Linked DNA regions of Homo sapiens: all the other regions are linked to region 2. The links are contacts of gene promoters, found by promoter capture Hi-C in blood cells and fetal thymus (Javierre and others, 2016). All regions are on one chromosome and are shown on one strand. The core of a region is centred on a gene start or on the middle of the fragment in contact, and the rest is flanking DNA. Distances in the headings are between cores, read along the strand shown.

What was found. Contacts are between HindIII fragments. The CHiCAGO score rates a contact against its expected background, and 5 or more counts as called.
Region 1: the fragment with the promoter of RUFY1 here is called in contact with the fragment with the promoter of PHYKPL in region 2 in 1 of 17 cell types (endothelial precursors); the score reaches 6.9 in endothelial precursors.
Region 3: a contact is called between a fragment that was not itself captured here and the fragment with the promoter of PHYKPL in region 2, in 1 of 17 cell types (fetal thymus). The highest score is 5.1, in fetal thymus.
Region 4: a contact is called between a fragment that was not itself captured here and the fragment with the promoter of PHYKPL in region 2, in 1 of 17 cell types (erythroblasts). The highest score is 5.9, in erythroblasts.
Region 5: a fragment that was not itself captured here is called in contact with the fragment with the promoter of PHYKPL in region 2 in 1 of 17 cell types (endothelial precursors); the score reaches 6.1 in endothelial precursors.

The regions. Positions count from the first base shown.
Region 1 is chr5:179,547,104-179,552,545 of GRCh38, forward strand. It overlaps RUFY1 (RUN and FYVE domain containing 1), which reads left to right and starts at 3,451. Exons shown (of 18, transcript NM_025158.5): 1 at 3,451-3,776. The coding sequence starts at 3,467. All of the region lies in intron 4 of LOC128966623 (a long non-coding RNA gene), which reads left to right. It overlaps LOC105377762 (a long non-coding RNA gene), which reads right to left and starts at 3,401. Exons shown (of 4, transcript XR_941315.4): 1 at 2,841-3,401. RefSeq lists a silencer at 3,376-4,085. The HindIII fragment of the contact is 8,514 bases long and covers 1-5,442 here.
Region 2 is chr5:178,228,973-178,234,185 of GRCh38, forward strand. It overlaps PHYKPL (5-phosphohydroxy-L-lysine phospho-lyase), which reads right to left and starts at 3,830. Exons shown (of 13, transcript NM_153373.4): 1 at 3,520-3,830; 2 at 2,433-2,551; 3 at 968-1,127. The coding sequence starts at 3,578. LOC112267937 (a long non-coding RNA gene) reads left to right here and starts at 5,066. Exons shown (of 3, transcript XR_002956238.2): 1 at 5,066-5,213. RefSeq lists silencers at 3,255-3,574, 3,655-4,064 and an enhancer at 3,454-3,992. The HindIII fragment of the contact is 8,512 bases long and covers 1-5,213 here.
Region 3 is chr5:179,676,057-179,681,251 of GRCh38, forward strand. It overlaps CBY3 (chibby family member 3), which reads right to left and starts at 4,978. Exons shown (of 2, transcript NM_001164444.2): 1 at 4,817-4,978; 2 at 2,504-3,209. The coding sequence starts at 4,862. The coding sequence ends at 2,527. It also overlaps a transcript of CANX not described here. RefSeq lists enhancers at 2,180-2,795, 2,683-2,942. The HindIII fragment of the contact is 255 bases long and covers 2,013-2,267 here.
Region 4 is chr5:179,583,760-179,588,851 of GRCh38, forward strand. It overlaps RUFY1 (RUN and FYVE domain containing 1), which reads left to right. Exons shown (of 18, transcript NM_025158.5): 8 at 2,037-2,106. All of the region lies in intron 4 of LOC128966623 (a long non-coding RNA gene), which reads left to right. Among named protein-coding and RNA genes, the nearest start is that of RUFY1-AS1, 17 kb to the right of the region's middle. The HindIII fragment of the contact is 900 bases long and covers 2,093-2,992 here.
Region 5 is chr5:179,489,578-179,495,032 of GRCh38, forward strand. It overlaps LOC124901224 (U4 spliceosomal RNA), which reads right to left and starts at 2,580; the gene lies at 2,438-2,580. The HindIII fragment of the contact is 5,384 bases long and covers 1-4,258 here.

The DNA of each region.
Region 1 (5,442 bases), core at 2,201-4,700, 1.3 Mb after region 2:
GTGCCTGCCACCACACCCAGCTAATTTTGTATTTTTAGTAGAGACAGGGTTTCACCATGTTGGCCTGGAACTCCTGATCGCAAGTGATCTGCCCACCTTAGACTCCCAAAGTGCAGGGATTACAGGTTTGAGCCACGGCCTAATTGGCCTAATTTCAATATTGTGTCTCAGGGCACAGGGAGGCCCGAGGAGAGGGTAAGGGAGAAGGAAACACGTGGTTGGTGGAGCAGTAAGAACACATACAACATTTATCAATTAAGTTTACCATCTTATATGGGTGCAGTTTGTGGTGCCCCAAAACAATTAATAATAGTAACACCAAAGATCACAGATCACAAATCATATAACAGATGTAAGGGTAGTTTAAAAGTTTAGAATATTTTGAGAATTACGAAAATGTGAAACAGAGGCACAAAATAAGCACGTGCTGTTGGGTTGCCAACAGCAACTTTTTCTTTTTTTGAGACGCAGTTTTTTTTGCACTTGTCGCCCAGGCTGGAGTGCAGTGGTTCGATCTCGGCTCACTGCAACCTCTGCCTCCCAGGTTCAAGCGATTCTCCTGCCTCAGCCTCCAGAGTAGCTGGGATTATAGGCTCCCACCACCACGCCTGGCTAATTTTTGTGTTTTTAGTAGAGACGGGGTTTCGCCATGTCGGCCACGCTGGTCACGAACTCCTGATCTCAGGTGATCCACCCACCTGTGCCTCCCAGAGTGCTGGGATTACAGGCGTGAGCCACCGTGCCCGGCTGCCAAAAACTTTAATTTGTTAAAAAAGCAATAAAGCGAAGCACTATAAAATGAGATATATTTCAATATGTAAACGAGGCACAACTACCACTGAAATAACATAGACATTTGCACGTGTAATTCTGAACAAATCAATTTAGCTACGTTCCAGGAAAATTTAGGGTACACTTATGGTAGTCATTACACTGCTCACAAAGATTCCCAGTTGTGGTTTTCCCAGACAGAAATAGGTCTGAACTTCCCAACTCCCTAGAAATTAAACGTGGCCATGTGATTTGCTTTCACCAATGAAATGTGCATAAGTGACCTTTGTCATGCAGGACTGGAGCATGTAATATTTATGCAAAACTCCCAACAGGCTGGGTCCTGAGAGACTACAATGAGTTGGGCAGAGTACTCACCCCATCTACATTGACATGTAGCATGATGAGAAACCAGCTTTTAGGTTAAGCCATTGAGATTTGGGGGTTGTTACTGAAGAATAACCTTGCCTGATAAATGTTGAAACTGTTCCCCCAAAAAAGAGTTAATGTTTTTATACAAAATGGAATTCGGTTCCACGCCCTGATCATTATAAACAAACTTTTCACCTACATAAATGTCCAGTAGCATTGGAAAGTCATGAAGGATTCGGGACAATGCTGTTATTCTAGACTATCTTCATCCCTGTCTATGCATCCAGTAAAGACTAGTAGGGCCGGGCTCAGTGGCTCACGCCTGTAATCTCAACACTTTGAGAGGCCGAGGCGGGGGAATCACGAGGTCGAGAGATCGAGACTATCCTGGCGAACATGGTGAAACCCCGTCTCTACTAAAAGTACAAAAATTAGCCAAGTGTGGCGCCACGCCCCTGCAGTCCCAGCTACTTGGGAGGCTGAGGCAGGAAAATCGCTTGAACCCGGTAGGCAGAGGTTACAGTGAGCCGAGATTGCGCCACTGCACTCCAGCTTGGTGACAGAGCAGGACTTGGCCTCAAAAACAAACAAACAAACAAGACCAGGCCGGGCGTGGTGGCTCACGCCTCTAATCCCAGCACTTTGGGAGGCCGAGGCTGGCGGATCACGAGGTCAGGAGATCAAGACCATCCTGGCTAACACGGTGAAACCCCGTTTCTACTAAAAATACAAAAAAAAAAAAAAATTAGCCGGGCGTGGTGGCGGGCACCTGTAGTCCCAGCTACTCGGGAGGCTGAGGCAGGAGAATGGCGTGAACCCGGGAGGTGGAGCTTGCAGTGAACCGAGATCGCGCCACTGCACTCCAGCCTGGGCGACTGAGCGAGACTCCGTACGAAAACAAACAAACAAAAAAGACTGGTAGTATGCCCTCAGTCATTACACAACTCAAACACCAACTCCACAAATTCCCAAAACACTCCTAGATGAAGTGGTATCCCTTCACTGAGAACTGGCCTTTCAGGGACCAGACATATCATGCAACCTAGTGAAGTGGGCTGGACCAAGACAGGTCCAGGGAGCAGCTGGGCGTCTAAAGGGGCAGCACAGTTTATTCCCAACAGTTTGTTGCCATCTGGGAATATGCCATGAGTTACCAAATATTCCAGTGATTCCAGAGAAAGCTAAAATCCAGATTCTTATGTGAAATCTTTTGATTTCTAAATATTGGCAACAAGTTTTAAGATTTGTAAACATTCTGGGAATCAAAACAGCTCTGCTGGTTTGGTGTGGCTCATGTTGCCTCACTTTGCAAAGTGTTAAGTGCTAGTAAATTTTAGTGTTTTTTCTGAGACAGGGTCTCACTTTGTCGCCCAGCCTGGAGTGCAGTGGCCATGATCTCCGCTCACTGTGGGATCGACCTCCCGGGCTCAAGCGATCCTCCCACTCTCAGCCCCCCAAGGAGCTAGGAGTAGAGCTGTCCCGCCACGACATCTGGCTGGTTTTTTGTTGTTGTTGTTGTTGTTGTTTTGGTATTTTAGTAGAGACGGGGTTTCGTCCTACTAAAGGCCCGCCTGGGCCTTCCGAAGTGCTGGGATTACAGGCGTGAGCCACCGCGCCCGGCCAAAATTTTCCTTTGTACTTACTCAAATTCCTTTCTTTTCCAAGTGAAGAAACAGACTGAGTGTATAGTGACTTACCCAGGCCACACAGTTGGATACCAGAGATAGTAGTCACAATCGCTAACATCTGCCATGTGGTCCTTACTGCAAATCTTATTTAATAATGAGGTCGGTTTTTGTTATCCCACTTAACTAATCAATAGGAGAAGCCACCTCTGATTTCCAGTCCACTATCGTGCACTCTTTCTTGCCAAGCCGTCATAGTCATTAGATTAAAAAAAAAAAAAAATTCCTGCTTTCCTGCCTCGCCTGTGCGTTTCCTTAGTCGCCCTTTCGGGGCTTGTTCTAATGAGTGCTACAGAAAAATGACGAAGTGGAAAATATAGACCATGAAATGAAAATTTAAAAGAGGAAATGGTGTCACAAAGACAACGACGGCCAGGGAACCCCGTGAAGCGCCGGGCAGGGTGCACAACTGTCCTCGGAGAAAGTTCAAGAGGAACTTCCCCGCGAACAGGTCCTGCCGGCGGCCGGGAATACGCACACTTTTTATGTTATGACTTGGACTTTCCCGAACCTTTCGAAACAGAGGGAAGGCGAGGCGGTGAAGAGGGAGAAAAATCTCCCCCACCTAAGGCAAAGGCGATGCCCGCCCGCCCCCACCCCGCGCCCGCCCGCCCGCTGGGTCACATGACACGGCCAAGATGGCCGACCGGGAAGGCGGCTGCGCTGCTGGGCGGGGGCGGGAGCTGGAGCCGGAGCTGGAGCCGGGGCCGGGGCCCGGGTCAGCGCTTGAGCCGGGAGAAGAGTTTGAGATCGTGGACCGAAGCCAGCTGCCCGGCCCAGGCGACCTGCGGAGCGCAACGAGGCCGCGGGCGGCCGAGGGCTGGTCGGCGCCCATCCTGACCCTGGCACGCAGGGCCACCGGGAACCTGTCGGCGAGCTGCGGGAGCGCGCTGCGCGCGGCCGCGGGGCTGGGCGGCGGGGACAGCGGGGACGGCACGGCGCGCGCAGGTAGGCTCGGGCCGGGTCTGTCCCGCGGCGGACTCGCGTGTCCCCGCTGGCCGCCGGCGCGGGCGCGGTGGGGGCCGGGCTGGGAGGGCACTGGCCGTTCCGGGAGGTTACGCGAGCTGTTGGCGGGCGGGCGGCGCCTGGCTGCGCCTGGGTCTTTACTCCGGCGGCCCAGCCGAGACCGCCCCCCGCAGCCCCGCGTGCCTGAGCGCGCTCCCGCACCCGCGCCTCTATGCTCTCCCACTAACTAGGTGAAGGACGTGTGCGCGTCCGGGCTTCGGAACTCTGTAGTAACTCCACACACGAAACGGAGCCAGCACTGTTCTGCTTTTCAGCCGTTCAGTGCGGGAGTGGAGCGCCGGCGGGTGTTGGGAGGGCGTGGGCCCTGCGCGCAGCGGACCAGCGGCGCCTCCGCTCACCTCTGCCTGTGAGATGGGGATTTTAAAGTCACCCGATGATCTCTTAAAGACCTTTTCAGCCCTTGTAATGAACAGAGTGCCAGCATATCAGTGATAGTAAGAGTTAAGTAACTTAGCCCTCTAACGCCAGACATCCAGAGCTGTGCTATCCAATACAACAGCACGCATATGTTTTTGTGTGTGTGTTTTTGTTTTTATTTATTTTTATTTTTTTGAGACCGGGTCTTGCTCTGTCGCCCAGGCTGGAGTGCAGTGGTGCGATCTCGGCTCACTGCACCCTCTGCCTCCCGGGTTCAAGCGATCCTCCCTCCCGCCTCAGCCTCCCGAGTAGCTGGGATTACAGGTGCCCACCACCACGCTCGGCTAAGTTCCCCGCCCCCACCCCCCTCCCATATTTTTAGTAGAAACGGGGTTTCACCATCTTGGCCAGGCTGGTCTTGAACTCCTGACCTTGTGATACACCTGCCTCGGCCTCGTAAAGTACTGGGACTACAGGCTTGAGCCACCGCGCCCGGCCGGATTCCTCAATTTCTAACTGAATCAATTGAAATTCAGTACTTTTAAATTGAATTAAAAATTGAGTTCCTCGGCCGGGAGCGGTGGCTCACGCCTGTAATCCCAGCACTTTGGGAGGCCGAAGCGGGTGGATCACGAGGTCAAGAGATCGAGACCATCCTGGCCAACATGGTGAAACCCCGTCTCTACTAAAAATACAAAAAATTAGCTGGGTGTGTTGGCATGCACCTGTAGTCCCAGCTACTCAGGAGGCTGAGGCAGGAGAATCGCTTGAACCTGGGAGGCAGAGGTTGCAGTGAGCCGAGATCGCGCCACTGCACTCCAGCCTGGGTGACAGAGCGAGACTCTGTCTCAAAAAAAAAAAAAAAAAAAAAAACTTGTTCCTCGATTACAGCGGCCACATTTTAAATGCTCAGTAGCCTGTGTGTGGCCAGTGGCTACTGTATGAGATAGCACATAATAGAACATTGCCAACTTCATAGAAAATGCTGGGACAGAGCTGAGGAAAGGTTGTGGTGCCTTCCAAGGAGCATCATAGCACACACTCGAGGCTTCCTGATTCCTCCCCATCCACTGGTACCTTTGCTGTAGATGCACTGACCCCAGGTAGTGAATTGTGAGATTTTCAGTGGTCAAGAATAATTACTGAGTAAAGTTGAAAGGCTGACTCGTTTTGAGATCCTGGCAGTGGAAAATAGCATTAGAGGATGATGAGAGCCTGGGCAGGCCGGGAA
Region 2 (5,213 bases), core at 2,580-5,079:
CTCTGCTTTCCCTTCGTGGACTTCTTTCGGTTCCTCAAGTGTGCTGGGTACCATATCCTTTCCTGCTACAGGGCCTTTCCACAGGCAGTTCTGTGTGGTGACCAACCTTGACAAGAGTTTTGATGAGACTATTTTTTTTTTTTTTTTTTTTTGAGATAGAGCCTCTCTCTGTCCTGCAGACTGCAGTGCAGTGGTGCAATTTTGGCTCACTGCAACCTCCGCCTCCCGGTTCAAGCGATTCTCCTGCCCCAGCCTCCTGAGTAGTTGGGATTACAGGCACCCACCACCACGCCCAGCTAAATTTTGTGTATTTTTAGTAGAGACGGGGTTTCGCCCTGTTGGCCGGGCTGGTCTCAAACTCCCGACCTCAGGTGATCCGCCCACCTCGATCTCCCGAAGTGCTGGGATTACAGGCATGAGCCATCGTGCCCAGCCTTGACGAGACTTCTGATGCAGTGGCAGCACCCTTCCTTCCTCCTCTTCTAGTTATCTCCTAGTCAGCTCTGAGCTTAACAGCCCTTCCTCAGGGAAGGTTTCCCTGAACCCCCAGGTCAGGTCCCCTCACTTTTTCTAGGCCTCATGATACCCTGTACACTTCCTCCAGAGCCCTCCTTGCAATTCTGTATTTCTTTGAAGAATCACTTGATGTTTTCCTTCCTTACTGAGCAACCCACAGGCAGGGATTTTGGCTGTATCCTTAAGGCAGAAATAAAGGAACATATTACCTCACTAAGCTCCAGCAATGATCCTAGAAAGGAGGTAATAACATCCTTCAATAAGAGACAAGGAAACTGGATCCAACAGAGAAAGCATCAGGGCCTACAGCCGGGAATCTCAGGAGCCTGGTGCAGTGGGGGCTGCCTCTCCGAGTCCACACTCGGTCAGCTACACTACACTGGGCCCATGTGAGTGACTGTCTTTGTTACCGTCTCACCCTCTTCCCGGGGGCTGGCCACAGTCCACTTACCCAGAATTCAGGAAATAGAACACACAGAGCTGCTCCGGCAGGGTCTCTGACAGCCTCTGCGCATAGTCCACGATGTTGTCATGCAGGTACCGGCTGTTGGTGTTGAGCACCTGGTTCTGCTCATGTGCTGCTTGGACCACGAGAGGGTGGCAGTGCCCAACTGGAAGAGGGCCGCCTCCGTCACACGGCTGGCTCCACTCAGCCAGTCCCACTGGGCCTCCCCCAGCCCCAAGCTATAAACCCAGCCAGAAGAGATGTAGTTCTAGAGGGAGAGGTAGAAAGAGGGCAGTCTGAAGGCAGAGCAGGGAGAGAGAAGCTGGTTCTGGAAAGGCAGATCCAGGAGTTCCTGAGATTCTGGCAGAAGGAAAGCCGCTTCAGCAGAAGAACCCTGTCTAGAAAGCCCATGTCTTTAAGGAGGACTTTTTTTTTTTTTTTTAACAGGGCCTTACTCTGTCACCCAGGCTGGAGTGTATGGTGTGATCATGGCATTCACTGCATCCTCACACTCCTGGGCTCAAGTGGTCCTCCCACCTCAGCCTCCTGAGCAGGTGGGGCTATAGACACCAGTCACCATGCCTGGCTAATTTTTAAGTTTTTTTTTGGTAGAGACAAGGTCTCATTATGTTGCCCAGGCTGGAAGGCCTTTTGAGGCTTGTATGACAAAGGTGGGGTGGGGGGTGACTGTCAACTGGTTTCACTTCACCAGCCAAGGGGGCTGGTGGTAATCTTGATTGTCAAAGGCCAAGGATAATAACAGTGAATATGTACTGAGAGCTCACCATGTGCCAGGCACATTCAGAGCAAGCTACATAAATTAACACACTTAATTCTCCAAACACCTTAAAGTGGGTACCTAGTATCATTATGTCTTTCACAGATAAGCAAACTGAGGCACTGAGAATTAAGTAACTTGCCCGAGATCACAAGTTAGTAAGTAGGGGACAGGGATTTGAGCCCAAGCAGTCTAAGACTAGAGTCTCTGCTTTTTTTTTTTTTTTAACCTCAACTTTATTCATCTTCCATGTGCCTGCTGAGTCTCAGACTCCCTTTCTTTCCATCAGCTCTGGCAGCCTCATCAAGATGACTGAATTCCTACTTCAGCTCCCTTGCCTAGCACCTGAGATGGCCAATGGGGCTGAAGCACTGCCATGACCCCAGCACTTGGCCAGCACTGTGCTACGTTGCTGGTCACAGCTGGGCCATCTGCCACTTTGTGAGCTCATCATCAGTCCCAAGTGGAACTAGACTCACAGACCTAGATTGCTGACCCCTGCCTGGTTTAGCACAGCTCCAGATTGCAGAATTCCACAGCTATATTGCGAAGGCTGAGCCTCCTCTGCATACTGACAGTGCCTCAACTCCACCCAGGTTCTCCACACCTCTCGGCAATCTCAGGTCACCTTGGGACCAGGTTCACAGCACTGCCTTCCTCTCCTGCCCTGCCAGCCTGAGGTGTGATACTGACCGTGCGCCACATTGCTGATGCAATCGATGTATTCTGCCCCCTGTTCATCGTACATGTACTGCCCTTGGGCCCGGACAATCTTAACAGGATCCTCGGGAAAAAAGAGTCTGCAGGAAGAGCTGTGGGGACAGGCAAGGAGTGGACAGCCATGTCTGAAGACCGAAAGGGTGAAGTCTACTCATCGCAGACCCCCGCCCACCCCTTCCCAGTTTCTGGTGGCGGGGGGGAAATGAGAGCTGGAAGGGCAAGGTGCTGCTTCCCTGCCTTGTCTCTCCACTCCACAGGTGGTTGCAAAGCAGGAAGCAGATGGGGTAACAAGTCGCTGAAACTTCGGATTGTTTCTGAAAGCATTTTCAGCCTCTGTGGCCTCCTTGCTCATTTCTGCATGTGTCCGCGTCAGTCTCCCGGATCCTGAGAAAAGGTGGCTGCCCCGTCCCATGGGGACTCCATAAGGCCGCGTGTCTTCGATGGGATGGGCCAGGGCACCAACATTAGGTGCCTGGCTCTCAGCCCTAAACAGCTCCTTGCCAGCCACGTGGCCCTGCTGCCCCTCGCTGGGTGCCAGCCCTAAGCTCCAGTGGGAGGCGACCTCACCCACCGTCCCACCGAGGGCCCCCTCACAGGTCAAGTGTGCTGCCTGTGAACCGACTCCCCCGACTCTCCCTTGTCTGCCCTTTCAGCCCCCTCCCAGGTCACTCTCGAGCCAGGCCCAGGTGCTGCTGACGGGCCACCCTGGGTGAGGTCCTCTCAGGCGCCAGGGTGAAGGTCTTCTCCGGAGTAAAGGCTGCCAAGCGAGGCTGACACAGCCGAACAGCGGTGAGGGCGGGGCCGTCTCCTGAACTGGGCGGCCTGGAGACGGCGCTGTCGGGGAGGCGGCCCCGGAGACCACCCGCCGGGACTGCCCAACGGCGCCGCCCGCCTCGGGCCCTAGAAGCTCCAGCGGGGCCGGGGCAGCGGCCGGACGGGATGGGTAGCAGCGGCTTCCTAGCCGGAGGCGCGTGCGTAGTGCGTGCGTGCGTGCGTCGTGCGTGCGCGTGCCTCTCCGCGCAGCCCCGCGCCCCCCGCCGCCCGCCCCCCGCCCGGGTACCTGATGAGCCGTTGCCTCAGGGCCAGCGTGTCGGCCTTCGGGCGCTGGTCTGCGGCCATGGTGGGTGGCCGTCAGTCGGTGCCGTGACGCCACGCGGAGACGTCGCCGCGCGGGCTGGGCCTCCAAGGCCCCGCTCCGGGCCCCGCCCCTGCCTGGGTCGGGATTTGGGGCTCAGGTTCGCACTCGGCCCCGCCCCGAAGCGCCCGCGTTGCGGTGGTTCATTTCTTCGCTTGCCCACTGGGCCTGGCAGCCTTCCGGCCCGTGGTCGTGCCTTGGCAGTCCCGCGCAGGAACTCGAGCGCTGCCCCGTCTCTGGTTCCGGGACGCGCCCCGGGCCTCGCCCCGCAGGCCCCGCCCCGCAGGCCCCTGCGGCCTCCCTTCCGGGAAAGGGTCCCGGACGACCCCGCCCCTGCTCCCGGCGCCCAGGCGGGGCTCGGAGCTCCTGCAGGCCTTCTCTGGGCCAGACTCAGTCTTTGAGTCGCCTTGTGCATAAAATGGGATGAACTGTGAGGCCTAAGTGCGAGTATGTGACTGGTACCTTACCCGGGCCTGGTACACAGTAGGGGCCTCAGGGTGGGAGAAGCAGGTCCTAGGTTTTCCCAGCCCCATGAAGGGGCAGCAGGAAGAGCAGAAGGAGAGCCCAGGGTCCCTTCTGGGGCTGACCAAGGAGATCACCATGGGCTTGACCTTCAGGGCACCATAGTTCCTGCTAGAATCTAGGCAGGGTGAACCGGACGAGCTGTATCGTCGCTGAGAGAATCATGCAGCGTTTGGGCAAGAAGAGAGGTTGGGAATCCTCCTTGTGGTACATGTCGGTGACCCTGAAGCCCAGAAAGGGAAAGGGTTTTGTTGTCAGACACGCAGCAAGGCTGCAGAGGCTGGACTCCTACTGAGGTCTTCTTGACTCCCAGCCCAGGGAGTGAGAAGAAAAAGCCTCCCAAGGGGCTGGGATATGAGAGAAAAGCCCCCTCCTGGGGTGAGGCACTGGGGCTTTCTGCCTTGAAGAACCCTGGAACACGGGCCTGGGACTGCAGCAGGTGCAGGGGAGGCTCCTGATTGTCCCTTCTTTCTGTCCACATCATGATTCCCAGGCCTCTGCTTCACTCCCTCATTGCTGATTTCTTCTTCTCTTCCCAATACAGTTGTAAGATGCATAAGGCATTTATTGAACTCTTGACCTCAGATGATCTGCCTGCCTCGGCCTCCCAGAGTGCTGGGATTACAGGCCGGGTGAGCCACCGCACCCGGCCGCTTAAGGCATTTATTAAAGAACATTTGGAGTTTCTTTTTTCTTTATTGTGTAAAATATACATAACAAAATTTTACCATTTTAACCATTTTTAAGGATACAATTCAGTGGCAAAAGTACATTCACATCGTCGTGCAGCCATCACCACCATCCATGCAACAGGACTTTTTCATCTTCCCTAAAAGAATGGAATTTCTTATTTTTAACTGTAAAGCTGAATTGAATATTTTACATGATTTTTGGAAAAAATTCTTCCCAAATTAACTGCGAGGTTAACTGCTTGTGGCCTGTATTTTTTTTTTTTTTTAAAGAAAGGGTCTTATTCTGTTGTTCAGGCTGGAGTGCAGCATTGCAGTCTCTACCTCCCTGGGATCATGTGATCCTCCCATCTCAGCCTCTCAAGTACCTGCTACTACAGGTGCACGCCACCATACCCAGCCTGTACT
Region 3 (5,195 bases), core at 890-3,389, 1.4 Mb after region 2:
TTTTTATGTAAAGCATCTTCCTCCTTTTACTTCTTTTATTGTGATAAAACTCATATAAAATTGACCGTTTTGAAGTGTACCATTCAGTGACTTTTATTACAATGTTGCAAAACTATCACCACTATAGTGCCAATTTCTCATCAGCCCAAAAGGAAGCCCCCTTGTGTTTACACACACACACACACACACACACACACACACAAACTGTGTCCTCCCATCCCTTGGTAACCTAATCTGTTTTTTGTTTTTGTTTTTGTTTTGAGACAGAGTCTCACTTTGTCATCCAGGCTGGAGTGCAGTGGCGCGATCTTGGCTCACTGCAACCTCCACCTCTCCGGTTCAAGTGATTTTCCTGCTTCAGCCTCCCAAGTAGCTGGGATTACAGGCGTCTGCCATCATGCTTGGCTAATTTTTGTATTTTTAGTAGAAATAGGGTTTCACCATGTTGGCGGCCAGGTTGGTGTCGAACTCCTGACCTCAGGTGACCCACCTGCCTTGGCCTCCCAAAGTGCTGGGATTACAGGTGTGAGCCACTGTGCCCGGCTGGATTTTAAAATTTTCTTTATTTTTTTTTTGAGACAGAGTCTGGCTCTGGAGTGCTGTGGTGTGATGCTGGCTCACTGCATCCTCTGCCTCCCAGGTTCATGCGATTCTCCTGTCCCAGTCTCAGGAGTAACTCGGACTGTAGGGCGCATGCCACCAAGCCCAGCTAATTTTTTTTTTTTTTCCTTTGAGACAGAGTCTCACTCTGTCGCCCAGATTGGTGTGCAGTAGTGTGATCTCGGCTCACTGTAACCTCCACCTCCCAGGTTCAGGTGATTCTCCCACCTCAGCCTCCAGGAGTAGCTGAGACTACAGGCATGCGCCACCACACCCGGCTAATTTTTTTGTATTTTGGTAGGGATGGAGTTTCACCATGTTGCCCAGGTTGGTCTCGAACTCCTGAGCTCAGGCAATCTGCCCACCTCAGCCTCCCAAAGTGCTAGGCTTACAGGCACCCGACACCGCATCTGGCCAATTTTTGGTATTTTTAGTAGAGACATGGTTTCACCTTGTTGGTCAGGATGGCCTTTTAACTCCTGACCTCGTGATAGGCCCGCCTCGACCTCTCAAAGTGCTGGGATTACAAGCGTGAGCCACCACGCCTGGCCCCAGGAAATCTGGATTTTTAATGTGGTATCTCCAAATTCTGAAACTTTGGCAACTAATGCAATTTTTAGAAGACTGTGGGCCAGGCAGACTGCATTCTATGGAGGTAGAAAAGGAGGCCTGAGGCCGGGCTCGGTGGCTCACGCCTGTAATCCCAGCACTTTGGGAGGCCGAGGCGGGCAGATCACGAGATTAGGAGTTTGAGACCAGCCTGGCCAACATGGTGAAACCCCATCTCTACTAAAAATATAAAAATTAGCCGGGCGTGGTGGCAGCGCCTGTAGTCCCAGCTACTCGGGAGGCTGAGGCAGAAGAATCGTTTGAACCCGCGAGGTGGAGGTTGCAGTGAGCCGAGATCGTGCCCCTGCACGGCAGCCTGGGCGGCAGAGCGCGACTGTCTCAAAAACAAACAAACAAAAAATTAGCCGGGCGTGGTGGCGCATGCCTGTAATCCAGCTACTTGGGAGGCTGAGGCAGGAGAGTCGCTTGAACCCAGGAGGCGGAGGTTGAGGTGAGCCGAGATCGCGCCATTGCACTCCAGCCTGGGCAACAAGAGCTAAACTCCGTCTCAAAAAGAAAAGAAAAGAAAAGAAAAGGAGGCCTGAGCCCGGCGCGGTGGCTCACGCCTGTAATCCCACGTTTGGGAGGCTGAGGTGGGAGGACTGCTTGAGCCCGGAAGCTCGAGGTTGCAGTGAGCCATCATCGCGCCACTGCACTCCAGCCTGGGTGACAAGAGCGAGACCCCGTGTTTAAAAATAAGTTTAAAAAAAAAAAAAAAAAAAAAAAAAGGCCTGTAACAGAGACGCGACTCTCCAAAATGCCACACAGGCAAGTGGGGGCCGCACAGCCCATGGTTTCCAGAAAGCTTCTCTTGGGAATGTAAAATAACACTTACCCTGGGACTTCTAGTTTCTAAACCTCCTGAGCCTAGAGGCCCTGAAGACGGACCAAGTGCAAAGTCCCCGACCCCATACACCGTCCTCCGCTCCCTCCGCACCACACCCTTCATTCCCTGAGCACCGCGGTTCCTCCGTCTCCGGGACTTCGCCCTCCGTTACCTGGATGGCCTGCAAGGCCATTACCCGCCACTCCACCCTATCTGGGCCATGTCGGCTGCAAGCTTGGCTTCCACTCCGCACTCCCGGAGAGCCACGCGCAGACCCTCCTCCACGGCCCCATCACACCCTCCCAAGACAGGCAGCTTAGGCTTGCGTCCCCTGCCGACACCCAGCACCGAGGGGCAGTCCCCGAGGCCACGCAGACCTCCCCAACCCACACGCACAGACCGACCCGGGGAACCGCGGGAGCCAGTCCCGCGCTGGGGCAGTGGCAGACCCGAGGCGTGAGGCGCGCATGCGTAGCGCGGCCTTTATTGCGTCACTGCGAGTCCAGAGCGCACGGCTGGATCATGAGCACGCCCGCGCTGGCGCCTGCGCGCTTGCGCATCTTCCTCTGCCCGGCGCGCGCCGCAGCCGTCGGGATCACCTCGGGGTTGCGCTGCTTCTCCAGCAAGTGCATGCGCGCCATGGTCTCAGTCAGCATGTCTATGAGCAGTTCCTGCTGCAGCTTCAGGTAGTTGTTCTCCTCCAGCAACACTTGGCTTTTGGACCGCTGCACCTGCGCCTTCCAGCCCCAGGCGGTCCGCGAGAGCAGCGGCGACCGCGTCCTCGCCAGCTGGCTCTCAGTGGTCCACCGCCCGCCGCGGAACACGAAGGCCTGGTTGCTGAGGCGCATGCACGGCGCGCCGTAGGCGAGGCCCAGCTCGGCCTGGCGCGTGTTGTGGTCCAGCAGGTAGAAGGTGGACAGGGAGGGCATGCGGCGCAGTGGCGGCCGCCGTGGCGAGAAGGGCCGCGAGATGTGATCGGCCCAAAACTGCTGCAGCGTCTGCCACAGGCGGCTGGCATGGCTCGTAGCCGAGCACTCGAAGGTTGCCAGGGCGTGGACCTTGTAGGGCACGCAGGTGCTCGAAGGGGAGCCTCGGGAGCGCTGGCGACTCGTGCTGCGCTCTTGTCTCGGGAGCCCGGATGTCCAGAATGATGAAGGCGAGCCAGGGGGCGCTGCTGGGAGACAAGAGTCCGGGTGAGCAGCGTGCTTGGTACAGGCCGCCTCTCAAACCGCGAGGCCGGCGGACATGTCTTAGCCCTGCAGCTACGGCTGCGGCTGTGTCTCACCAGCTGCTGGCCACCGAGGAGCCCGTCGTTCCACGCTGCACAGGCAGCAGTCTCACCTAAACCATCTTCCCCAAAGACCACTGAGGATCAGGCCCTGGGATACATATGCAGATGAAGGACGGGAGGAGGGCCTTGTTCTGAGTTGCAGCTGGAAGGGTGAGGGGTAGGGAATGGTAGCAAGACAAGTAAGTAGGTACTTAAAGGAGGAGTAGGACTTTGCCAGGTGGGTTGAGGATGGAAAATGGAGAACTTCTAGGCAGAGGGAAGAGCCGAGCAGGGCTTTCTTTTTCTTTTTTTTTGAGACTGAGTCTCGCTGTCGTTGCCCGAGCTGGAGTGCAATTGCGCGATCTTGGCTCACTGCAACCTCCACCTCCCGGGTTCCAGCAGTTCTCCTGCCTCAGCCTCTTGAGTAGCTGAGATTACAGGCGCCTGCCATCACCCCCACCTGATTTTTGTATTTTTAGTGAAGACGGGGTTTCACCATGTTGGCCAGGCTGGTCTCGAACTCCTGACCTCAGGTGATCCACCCAACTCGGCCTCCCAAAGTGCCCGGATTACAGGCATGAGTCACTGCGCCTGGCCTTTTTTTTTTTTTTTTTTTTTTTTTTGTATTTTTAGTAGAAATGGGGTTTCACCTTATTGGCCAGGCTGGTCTCGAACTCCGGACCTCAGGTGATCTGCCCGCCTCAGCGCCAAAGTGCTGGGATTACAGGTGTGAGCCACTGTACCCGGCAGGGCAGGACTTTCATATTTCAGATGTGAACACGAGCTTGGATAGGATTGGTGCTGGGAAGAGCAGAAGAGGAAGCTGGGAAGGTGGACCAGTGCACTATGTGAAGGTGCCCTACAGGCAGGCTCGGAAGCTTAGACTTCCTTTTGTGGGTAAGAGGGAACTGCTGAAGGATTAGAAAGCCGGGGTTAGATCTGGATTCTGAAAGCAATCTGGGAGGATATCTAGCATAGCCAACAGCATTATTGCCCTCATCATTCAGTCATTTGATAGACTTGAACTAGCATCTGCTCTGTGCCAGACTCTGGTCTTGGGAAGGGGACCTGAAACAGCCTCTGCCTGCCCTCAAGGTGCTCCTAATCCAGCTTGGAAGACAGATGCGTGTATAGACCACAGTCCAGTGTGTTCACTGACATCCTGGGGTGTGTGCCATGGGCTAGACCTATGCATAGGGCTCAAAGTATCAGGGATTGTGCACACTAAACATGACTTTTATTCCAAACAAACTGTGCCCTCAGGAAGTCCAAAGTCCAGATAACAGACAAGTCCCATTTTGCTCACTTCTCTCTGCACCCCCCACCCCTGCCCAGTAAGTGCTGATTCTATTATGTGAAAAAGGGAGCTATGTGTTGTTTCTAATTCCTCTTCTGCCCATGGGCAGTGAGAAGAGAAAGAACTAGAGCAGGGTTCCCTCTGTTATGCCTTCGTTAATTCATAATACACTTATCCCTCACATATAGGTGGACAGAGGCTGGATGGTACATACCATCCCCAAGATCTGGTTCAGGGAGATGGTCTCTGGAAGCCCACATCCAGGCCCACCCTTGAGATTGTATCTTCTCGGAGGATGTTTCCCCGTTAGTCCTCACTGTATGTTGTGCCTCACCTGGAAGATGGGGTGGAGTTGCTGAGCTGCTGTCCCAGGGCTAGTCCCATCTCTGACCCACTCAGCTCTTGTCCACCTGCTATGACTCACAATGCCTCCAGGCCAGGCCACCCCAGGACAAGAAGGGGTGCTGACCGCTGAGCTGTCAGATAGACTCTGGGCTCTCCCCTGCATGCATTCAGTGCATCATTGAGCACCTACTGTGTTCTAGGAACAGTTCTAGGGAAGTGAAGAACATATTCCCTCACTGAGCTGTCAT
Region 4 (5,092 bases), core at 1,293-3,792, 1.4 Mb after region 2:
ATTTTTTTGAGACAGAGTCCTGCTCTGTCGCCCAGGCTGGAGTGCAGTGGCATGATCTCCGCTCACTGCAAGCTTCGCCTCCCAGGTTCACGCCATTCTCCTGCCTCAGCCTCCCAAGTAGCTGGGATTGCAGGCGCCCACCACCATGCCCAGCTAATTTTTTGTATTTTAGTAGAGACGGGGTTTCACCGTGTTAGCCAGGATGGTCTCGATCTCCTGACGTTGTGATCCGCCCGCCTCGGCCTCCCAAAGTGCTGGGATTACAGGCGTGAGCCACCACGTCAGGCCTATATTTTTAAGAAAAATATACAATTGGGGGGTATTTTCTAAATTATCAAGTTGGCACAGAATTGACAATTGTATACTCTTAAAACTTTCCATTCCCTCTGTATCTTTTGGTTTTTTTCCCTTTTTCATTTTGTGTCTTTGTATTTTTATATTTGTCCCCCGGTTCCTAAGCCTTGGTTCATTAGCCTTGCTAAGTTTATTTCTTTGTCCCCCACTCACTGGCAACAGGGACTGGTCTTTGGCAGCATGACCTGTTGCCCAGAAGTACAGGCTCTAGAGCCAGATTCCCTGGGTTCAGATGCCAGCACCCCTTTGTAGATATGTGAACTTGAGTGAATTCTTTTATATAAAATTATGGCTGCCTTGTCTGTAAAATGGGCTAACAGTAGGATCTACCTCATTGAATTGTGGGGAAGATTAAATGAGTTGATGCATTTAAAGTGCTTAGAGGCCAGGTGTGGAAGCTCATGCCAGTAATCTCAGCAGTTTGGGAGGCTGGGGCAGGAGGAGGATCACCTGAGCCCAGGAGTTCAAGATCAGTCTGGGTGACATAGTGAAACCTCACCTCTACAAAAAAATACAAAAATTAGCTGGGCCTGGTGGCAAGGTGGGAGGCCAAGGTGGGAGGATCATGAGCCTTGGAGGTTGAGGCTACAGTGAGCCATGATCACACCACTGCACTCCAGCCTGGGCGACAGAGCAAGACCCTGTTTCAAAAACAAAAAAAAACAAAAAAAAGTAGTACATGTTATTAAATAATATTTTTTAAATGGGGAAGGTGTAAAAGGGATTTAAAAACACCTTGGGACCGGGCGCAGTGGCTCACGCCTGTGATCCCAGCACTTTGGGAGGCCGAAGCAGGCAGATCACGAGGTCAGGAGATTGAGACCATCCTGGCTAACACAGTGAAACCCCGTCTCTACTAAAAATACAATTAGCCGAGCATGTTGACGGGCGCCTGTGGTCCCAGCTATTTGGGAGGCTGAGGCAGGAGAATCACCTGAACCCAGGAGGTGGAGGTTCCAGTGAGTTGAGCTCGCGCCACTGCACTCCAGACTAGGCGAAAGAGTAAGACTCTGTCTCAAAACAAACAAACAAAAAACACCTTGGATCCTTCTACCCAAAAATACTAATACCTTGTTAATGAATTTTACTTTAGGTATATGACTGCCAACACATTTTGGTTTCTATCACCATTTGTGTTGGGAGAAAAAAATTCTCTTTCCAGATGACTAAAAAAGAAATAGGCCGGGCACAGTGGTTCATGCCTGTAGTCCCAGCACTTTGGAAGGCCAGGGTGGGCAGCCTCACCTGAGGTCAGGAGTTCGAGACCAGCCTGGCCAACATGGTGAAACCCTGTCTCTACTAAAAATACAAAAAAATTAGCCAGGTGCAGTGGCACGCACCTGTAGTCTAGGCTATTCGGGAGGCTGAGGCTGGAAAATCGCTTGAACCCGGGAGGCAGAGGTTGCAGTGAGCCAAGATCACTCCACTGCACTCTAGTCTGGGCGACAGAGCGAGACTTTGCCTCAAAATAAAAAAAGAAAGATTAAATTTTCGGGACAAAACTTATTGAAAAGTATGTTGCAAATGTATATTTAGAATTCTCATCTTCTCTGAGTTAATTGGAGACCCTCTGCCTTTCCATTTCATACAGGAAATCTAGGAATCTCTCTTACTGTTTACAGATTGAGAAAACAGTCAGCTTGTATAAGTTTATGTTTACTTAATATTCTTATTTTCTACAGCTGCACAGTTGGGGATCTTCAAACCAAGATAGATGGCTTGGAAAAGACTAACTCAAAGCTTCAAGAAGAGGTTTGTAAGTTTTATTGAAATTTTTAGACAAAACAGAATGACCCAAGGTTAAGAGAATCTGTGTAGTCGGTCTGCGATAGCAGAGCTTCCTGCTGGTAGGAAGGGGACTTGCTAGCCTCCAGCTACCCCACGTGGGACAGGAGAATGTCTGTGTTCTGCTCTGTCCGAGGCTCCCAGTGAGACACTGCAGCGGATCACGAGCCAGTTCTAAGTGACTTAGATTTTATCACCTCAAAGTCATCCCATAGAAGGAAATTGTTCTTTGGAAGAGCCCAGCTTGTGTTGTGGAAGTGCCGTGTCTTCCTCTTTTTCTGCCCTTCCCATGATGCCGTGTGCCTCCCTGCTGCCCCAGAAAGCACAGACTCTGTCATAAGGAATAAGTATCCAGCCCACCCCTTCTGCTTTGGCCTCAGGAGCATGCAACCAGCCTCCCCACAGTGCGGTCTTTCTCTGCTTTCTCACTAGGAAGAGAGAATGAAAGGACAGGACAAAGGAGGGCTGAGCCGAGGAAGAGAGCTTGCTGCCAGCTGCCCGGCAGTCTCCTTGCTGGACACATCTTGTCTCCTGTTAGCAGGAGGGGGGTGCTCAGCCCTTCTGAGGCTTTCCACAGGTAGCAGTCCCCGGCTGCCCAGGCCTCCCACCTAGAAGGACAAGGGCTCTGAGAGGGGCTTGAGAAGGAACACCTCCACGGCATGGAGGTGGGTTACAGCAGAGAAGAGAGCCTCAGAGCCCATCTCTGTAATGAGGGACCCCGTGTAAGCCTCCCTTAAAGCTGACTGCTCCCTCCTGAGGCGCCAGCCCTGAAAGGCCTTCAGGAAAGGAGCTCAGATTTGTGTGAGTAGAAGGAAATTCAAGACGGTGTCACAGATGGGGGTGTCATGGGAGAAGCTTCATGGAACTTAGGATTGGAGGCTTCACAGTCACCTTGGTAGGCAGGCCTTTGAGCCTCAGGTCAGGCAGGTCGGTGGTTGAGCCTCACTTTTGTCACCTCCAAATTAGGTAATAATACATCCTTTACTGTTGCAAAGATTAAGACGAATATCTGGTAAATGTGCTCAGGACAACACTTGCCACGTGGGAGCACTCGAGTTGTTTGATTTTAGAACAAGCAGATTCCCTGCATCTCAGTCAAGATGGCGTGCTTTGATGAAGCTCCAATTGAGCTTTTGAAACTAAGCAGAGTTATGTGGGGTTTTTCTGCTTTTTGAGACAGGGTCTCACTCTGTCACCCAGGCTGGAGTGCAGTGGCGCAGTCATAGCTTACTGTAACCTCAGACTTCTGGGCTCAAGAGACCCTCCTGCCTCAACCTCCCAGTAGCTGGGACTACAGGTACACACCACCAACACCCGGCTAATTTTTTAACTCTTTGTAGAGACGGGATCTCACTTTGTTGTTCAGGCTGGTCTCAAACTCCTGGGCTAAAGTGACCCACCCACCTTGGCCTCCCAAAGTGCTAGGATTACAGACATGAGTCACTGAGCCCAGCTTCGGTTATGTTTTCTTTTTTCTTTCTTTCTTTTTTTTTTTTTTTTGAGACAGAGTCTTGCTCTGTCTCCCAGGCTGGAGTGCAGTAGTGACGTGATCTCCGCTCACTGCAAGCTCCCAAGCTCCACCTCCCGGGTTCACGCCATTCTCCTGCCTCAGCCTCCCGAGTAGCTGGGACTACAGGCGCCCGCCACCACGCCCGGCTAAATTTTTTTTTTTTTTTTTTTTTTAGTAGAGATGGCATTTCACCATGTTAGCCAGGATGGTCTCAATCTCCTGACCTTGTGATCTGCCCACCTCGGCCTCCCAAAGTGCTGGGATTACAGGCATGAGCCACTGCACCCAGCCAGGTTATGTTTTCTTTAAAGGCAAATGATTGTAATAGAAAATGTGCTTCAGGCAGGTGTGGTGGCTCATGCCTGTAAATCCCAGCTCTTTGGGAGGCCAAGGTGGAAGACTTGCTTCAGCCCAGGAGTTTGAGACCAGCCTGGGCAACATGGCAACACCCTGTCTCTACAAAAAATTTAAAAGTTAGCTGTGGTGACACACACCTGTACTCCCAGCTACTCGGGAGGCTGAGGTGAGAGGATCACTTGAGCCTAGGAGTTGGAGGCTGCAGTGAGACAGAGTAACACCCTGTCTCAATTAAAAAAACAAAGAAATGTGCTTAATGAAAAGCGTAGCCCTCTTCAGGGTGTGCTCTCTGCATCTCCAGAGAGTGGAATGGGAATTAGCTTATGGTTTTTGCCTGCTTCTTCCCTTCGGGCAAGTAACACGCCCTTTCAAGCCTTGGTGTTTCTTTTTTTGGGCACAGCAGTTAATGTGTAGAAACCCCAGGCCTGGGTTCTGAGTCTAAGTGGAGAGGAATTCTCAGGGGGTGTAGACACTGTTGACAGAGAAAGTGAGGAGTTCAGTGCTTCGAGGTCCCTCCACTAGTGAATGATGCCGAGAGCCAGCCAAGCACCAAGGACAGAGATCTTGCTTCTTTCTCCCCAGCTGCACCTTCCTCTCTGCAAGCTGTGTGATGAGGCTGGAATGAGGAGGGATGGGTTGGTGTGTTTACTCATCTGCCTTGCCTCTTGTGACAGCCTCTCCTTAGGCAGGTCCTGGACAGCGTCCTGCTTCTCTATGCTTTTCCCTCAGCCATGAGAAGTCCTTCCAGGGGAATAAGAGGTCCTCTTGGGCATATCTTCAATGATTTGTTTTTTATTCCTCCCTGCAAATTCTTTAATTCTCCCTCTAGTGATTTAAATATACTTTTACCGATCATTAGCTGGAAAAACTGGAAAGAAAGAAGAGTCAGGAAAAAAGCCCATAACCCCTTTACTAAGTGACAACTATTCTTGTCATTTTATTATTTGATTTGTATTGTTCCCAACTTTTCTTTTTTCTTTTTTGAGACAGGCTGTGGCTTTGTCACCCAGGCTGGAGTGCGGTGGCATGATCTCAGCTCACTGCAACCTCCGCCTCCTGGGCTCAAGCCATCCTCCCACCTCAGCC
Region 5 (5,455 bases), core at 317-2,816, 1.3 Mb after region 2:
AGGCTGAGGCAAGAGAATGGCGTGAACCCAGGAGGCAGAGCTTGCAGTGAGCCGAGATTGCACCACTGCACTCCAGCCTGGGCAACAGAGAGAGACTCCGTCTCAAAATAAATTAATTAAATAAAGCGGGAGGCTGAGACAGTCACTTGAGGCTAGGAGTTCAAGACCAGCCTGGCCAACATGGCAAAACCCCTTATCTACTAAAAATACAAGAATTAGCCTGGCATGGTGGCGCACCTGTAATCCCAGCTACTTGGGAGGCTGAGGCAGGAGAATCACTTGAAGCCAGGAGGCGGAGGTTGCAGTGATCTGAGATCACCCCACTGCACTCTAGCTTGGATGACAAAGCAAGACTCCATCTCAAAAAAAAAAAAAAAGTAAAGTGGAATTTTAGAAATCTAGGCACATTGCAGCAAAATTTTGGAATACCAAGGAAAAAAGGAAAATCCTCATAGTTTTCTGACCGAGAGAATAGGTTGTCACAATAGAATGAAAGTCAGCTTGACATCAAGACTTATCATCAATCCCGAATCCTAAAAGATAGTAGAGCAATTTCTCTAACATTCCAAAGAAAAAACTATTCGTAATCTAGGATCCAAGACCCAGCCAATCTAGCCTTAAATTGGGGGTGCAAAATAAAGACATTTTCATGCATATATGGGTTCATCCCACCTATAAACTCCCCCCAAAGAATCTAAGAAAATAAAAGAGATCAACTACAGTAAGTGCTGGAGGGAGAAATAAAGACAGAGATGATGCACTAAACTGGTCTTAAAAATATGAAACTAAAGTCTCCAATGAGCTCAGTGTGGTAGGGAATTGGTCCCAGGCGGGCAGGAGCAGCGGCGAGAGAACGGCGATTAAATTCACATTCCCAGTGCGGGCAGGACTGTCCCAAAGCAAGAACAGAGCTTTCTGCAAATGATCCGGTCAGACCTGTCTCACTTCTGAAAACAACCTCATTGGGATTTCTAATAAACTGGACTGATTCACTAAATAATTGGACTAGCAAACCAAACCAGTTTTACCTTTTTTTTTTTTTTTTGAGACAGAATCTCGCTCTGTCGCCCAGGCTGGAGTGTAGTGGCATGATCTCAGCTCACTGCAAGCTCCGCCTCCCGGGTTCACGCCATTCTCCTGCCTCAGCCTCCCGAGTAGCTGGGTCTACAGGTGCCCGCCACCACGCCTGGCTAATTTTTTGTATTTTTAGTAGAGACAGGGCTTCACCGTGTTAGCCAGGATGGTCTCCATCTCCTGACCTTGTGATCTGCCCACCTCGGCCTCCCAAAGTGCTGGAATTACAGGCGTCAGCCACAAAGCTCTTTCTCTTAACTTACATTGTCAGGAAACTGGTAACATAGATTGAATGACCCGCCCCAGTTTTTCACCCACACTCACACCCTCGCCATAGCCTCCCTTTCCCACCCCTTGACTTTGGGCTTGGCCAAAGGGATGCCAGCAGGCATGACACAGCAAAACTGGAAATGTGTTTGTGGGGTTAGATGTGCCGTCTCTCAGGGCCCTGCCATCAGCCAGAGACGAAACTGCCCCTGCTGGTCCCAGGAAGAGGATGAGAGGCATGTGGAGCAGAGCTGCCCAGCCAACCCACAAACTCATGAGTAAGAAATAAATGATTATTACTGTTTGCCACTGAGATGTGGGGATGGTTTGTTACACAGCATAAGTGTGACAATAGCTAACTGATACTCAGAGGGCAAGTGCCACTGCAGCAAACATGAGGAGGAATTCCTGAGCCTTTATATTAAAGTGGCTGCTCTCACTAGAGACACGATTGGACTCTGGCTGGTGCGATGACTCACACCTGCAGTCCCAACACTTGGGAGGCCAAGAGCAGAGGATTGCTTGAGCCCAGGAGTTTGAAAGCAGGCTGGGCAATGGATCAAGACTCCATCTCTACAACAACAACAACAAAAACACAGTGTTTTGAACTGAAGGAGCCATACAAAGGATGTCATACAGATTTATTAAATTCAAAACCAGGCTGGGCACGGTGGCTCACACCTGTAATCCCAGCACTTTGGGAGGCAGAGGTGGGCGGATTACCCGAGGTCAGAAGTTCAAGACCAGCCTGGTCAACATGGTGAAACCCCGTCTCTACTAAAAATACAAAAATTAGTCAGGCGTGGTGGTGCACGCCTCTAATCCCAGCTACTTGGGAGGCTGAGGCAGGAGAATTGATTGAACCTAGGAGGTGGAAGTTGCAGTGAGTCAGGATTGCGCCACTGCACTCGAGCCTGGGCGACAAGAGCGAAAGTCAGTTAAAAAAAAATCCAGAAAAACTACTTTTCTGGAATGCAAATCAGAATAGTGGCTGCTTGGGGATTAGGGGACAAGGGAAGTTGAGTAGACTGTAAAGGGATTGGGGGGAATTTTCTACAATGGTGGCAATGTTTTCTGCCTTGATTGGGGTGTTGGCTACAGATAGATATTTGTAAAAAGCCATTGAATTATATATTTAAGATCTGTGTGTTTTACTAAACTATTCCTCAATTTTTCAATTAGCAATAATCACGCCTCGGATAAACCTCATTGGCTATGATACTGCCACTGCACAAAGCTATTCCTCAATTTTTAAAAACATGTCTGTATGGAGTGGATACCCAGACCAGGGTGAGGCTGAGGTGCAAACAGGCCTACCTGAGGTGCCGGGCAGCCTTCCAAGACTCCAAGACTAGGTGGGCTCTGGGCAGACAAAGCCTCCCTCTCACAAAAGGTCTGGGAACCCTTTTCAGGGGGCTCAGAGTCCGGCCACATCTCTAGGTTTTCTGACGTCCTAGACACACCATGAGAAAGAACTTTGACTGGGCTCTCAATCTGGTTGGTGACCTAGGATATGGGGCTCATACCCAGGACCAAGAACCCAGGGCTTCTATCCAGAGCCTAGGACTTGGGGCTTATACCCACGGCCTAAAACCTGGGGCATATACCCAGGGCCTAGGACACAGGTTTATGCCCAGGGCCTAGGACACAAGGCTAATACCTAGAAAGAACACAGAACTTACACCCAGGGCCTGGAACTCGGGGCTTATAACCAGGGCCTAGGACATGGGGCTTATACCCAGAGACTAGGACACAAGGCTTATAACCAGAAAGGACACAGAACTTATATTCAGGGCCTAGAACCCGGGGCTTATACCCAGGGATTAGGACATGGGGCTTATACCCAGAGCCTAGGACACAAGGCTTATACCCAGAAAGGACGTGGGGCTTATACTCAGAGCCTAGGACACAAGGTTTATACCCAGAGCCTAGGACATGGGGCTTATACTCAAAGCCTAGGACATGGGGCTTATACCCAGAGCCTAGGAAACACAAGGCTTATATGCAGAAAGGACACAGGGCTTATACCCGGAGCCTAGGACATGGGGTTTAACCCAAGGTCTAGGACACAAGATTTATACCCAGAGCCTAGGACAAGGGGCTGAGAACCAGAGAATAGGACACAAGGCTTATACCCAGAACCTAGGACAGAAGGTTTATACCCAGAGCCTAGGACACAAGGCTTGTATCCAGAGCCTAGGACCCGGGGCTTCTACCCAGAGCCTAGGACCCAGGCCTTACACCTAGAGCCTAGGAGGCGGGGCTTACACCCAGAGCCTAGAACCCGGGGCTTATACCCAGAGTCTAGGACCCTAGGCTTATACCCAGGGCCTAGGAAGCAAGGCTTATACCCAGAGCCTAGGACACAAGGTTTATATGCAGAACCTAGGACCCGGGGCTTATACCCAGAACCTAGGACACAAGGCTTATACCCAGAGGCTAGGACGCGGGGCTCATATTCAGAGCGTAGGACACAGAGCCTGTATTCAGAACACACTAACCTGGAAACAGATGCTCTGAAACACAACTAGGAGAAAACCTGGCAAATGTCAGTCGTGATTGTCTCTTGTCCCCATGCAATAGGATTACAAGTGTTTTCCTTTTCTTTGTTCTTGTTGGTTCCTTATAAATTTAAAATAAATGATTAACCTCAAAAGTATTTGTGGACATGTGATTACATATAGAAGAGTGATTGTTAAATATTCTTTCTCAGGATAGCTTTATACTCTGAAAATCTCCTGTGGACCCTAAGGAACTTTACGTGAATTGCATCTATCAATTTTACTGTAATACAGATTAAATTTGAGGAGGTTTTGAAATATTTACTTATTTTAAAATAGTAATGATTCCACAGTGTCTACATATTTCAAAACATCATGTTGTACACGTTAAATAATTTCATTTTCAATTAAAAATAAGCTTTAAAAAGAATTCAAATTGCTCAATTTTTTAAATTAAAAACAACAAACCCATTGTTGTATGTTAACAATAAATAATTTTGTATGGAAAGCAACAATATCTTCTGCAAAATTAGTGAGTTGCATTGCCGCTGGCAAATCTCTAGGTAGATGTCTGAGCTGATTCTCAGATCTGCTTTTGCCTTCAATCTGTTACAATGTCACACATCACAGCATCTCTGGAAAATTCCACTGTATACTCATGGGAGAATAAGAATGAAAAAAGGCAAATCACATCTTACCATTATTATGAAAATAGTTTTGGCTACACTTTGAGAACTACTAATATAGAGTATAATCACAACTGTATAAAAATAGGCAAATAAAATTTCTGAGTAAAAGTGTCATGGTGCCACCTCGTGTCATCTTTAATTATTGCAATGCCTGCTTACCGAACTTGTCTGTGCACACGTATCAGGTTGGTGCAAAAGTAATCACGGTTTTTGTCTGGGCATGGTGGCTCACGCCTGTAATCCCAGCACTTTGGGAAGCCGAGGTGTGCAGATCACCTGAGGTCAGGAGTTCAAGACCAGCCTGGCCAACATGGTGAAACCCCGTCTCTACTAAAAATACAAAAATTAGCCAGGAGTGGTGGCGCACACCTGTAATCCCAGCTACTGGGGAGGCTGAGGCAGGAGAATCACTTGAACCCCAGAGGCAGAGGCTGCGGTGAGCTGAGATCACCCCATTGCACTCCAGCCTGGGCGACAGAGTAAGACTGTGTCTCAAAAAAAAAAAGTAATCGCAGTTTTTGCTATTGAAAGTAATGGCAAAAGCTGCGATTACTTTTGCACCAACCTAATAGTATATGGGGTGTGTGTGCATAATATGGTTTGTGCATGCAGGCTGCGGACATGTGTGGAAGTATGTGTATCAGTGGTGTGTGTGCAAGTATGTGTGAATATGGTGTGTGCATGTAGTGTGGTGTAAATGTGTGTGCACGCAGTGTCTACATATGGCTTGTATGTGCCTGTATTGCGTGTGTTGTGGATGTGCATGCATGCAGTATGTGGCATATGTGTGTGTTCCTGTGGGCCATGTGTGCATGTGATGTGTACCTATGATGTGTATGTGTACACATGATGCACGTGTGTTTGTTGGTGATGCGGGTCATATATGTGCATGTGGTACATGTGTATCATGTGAATGTGGGGCCT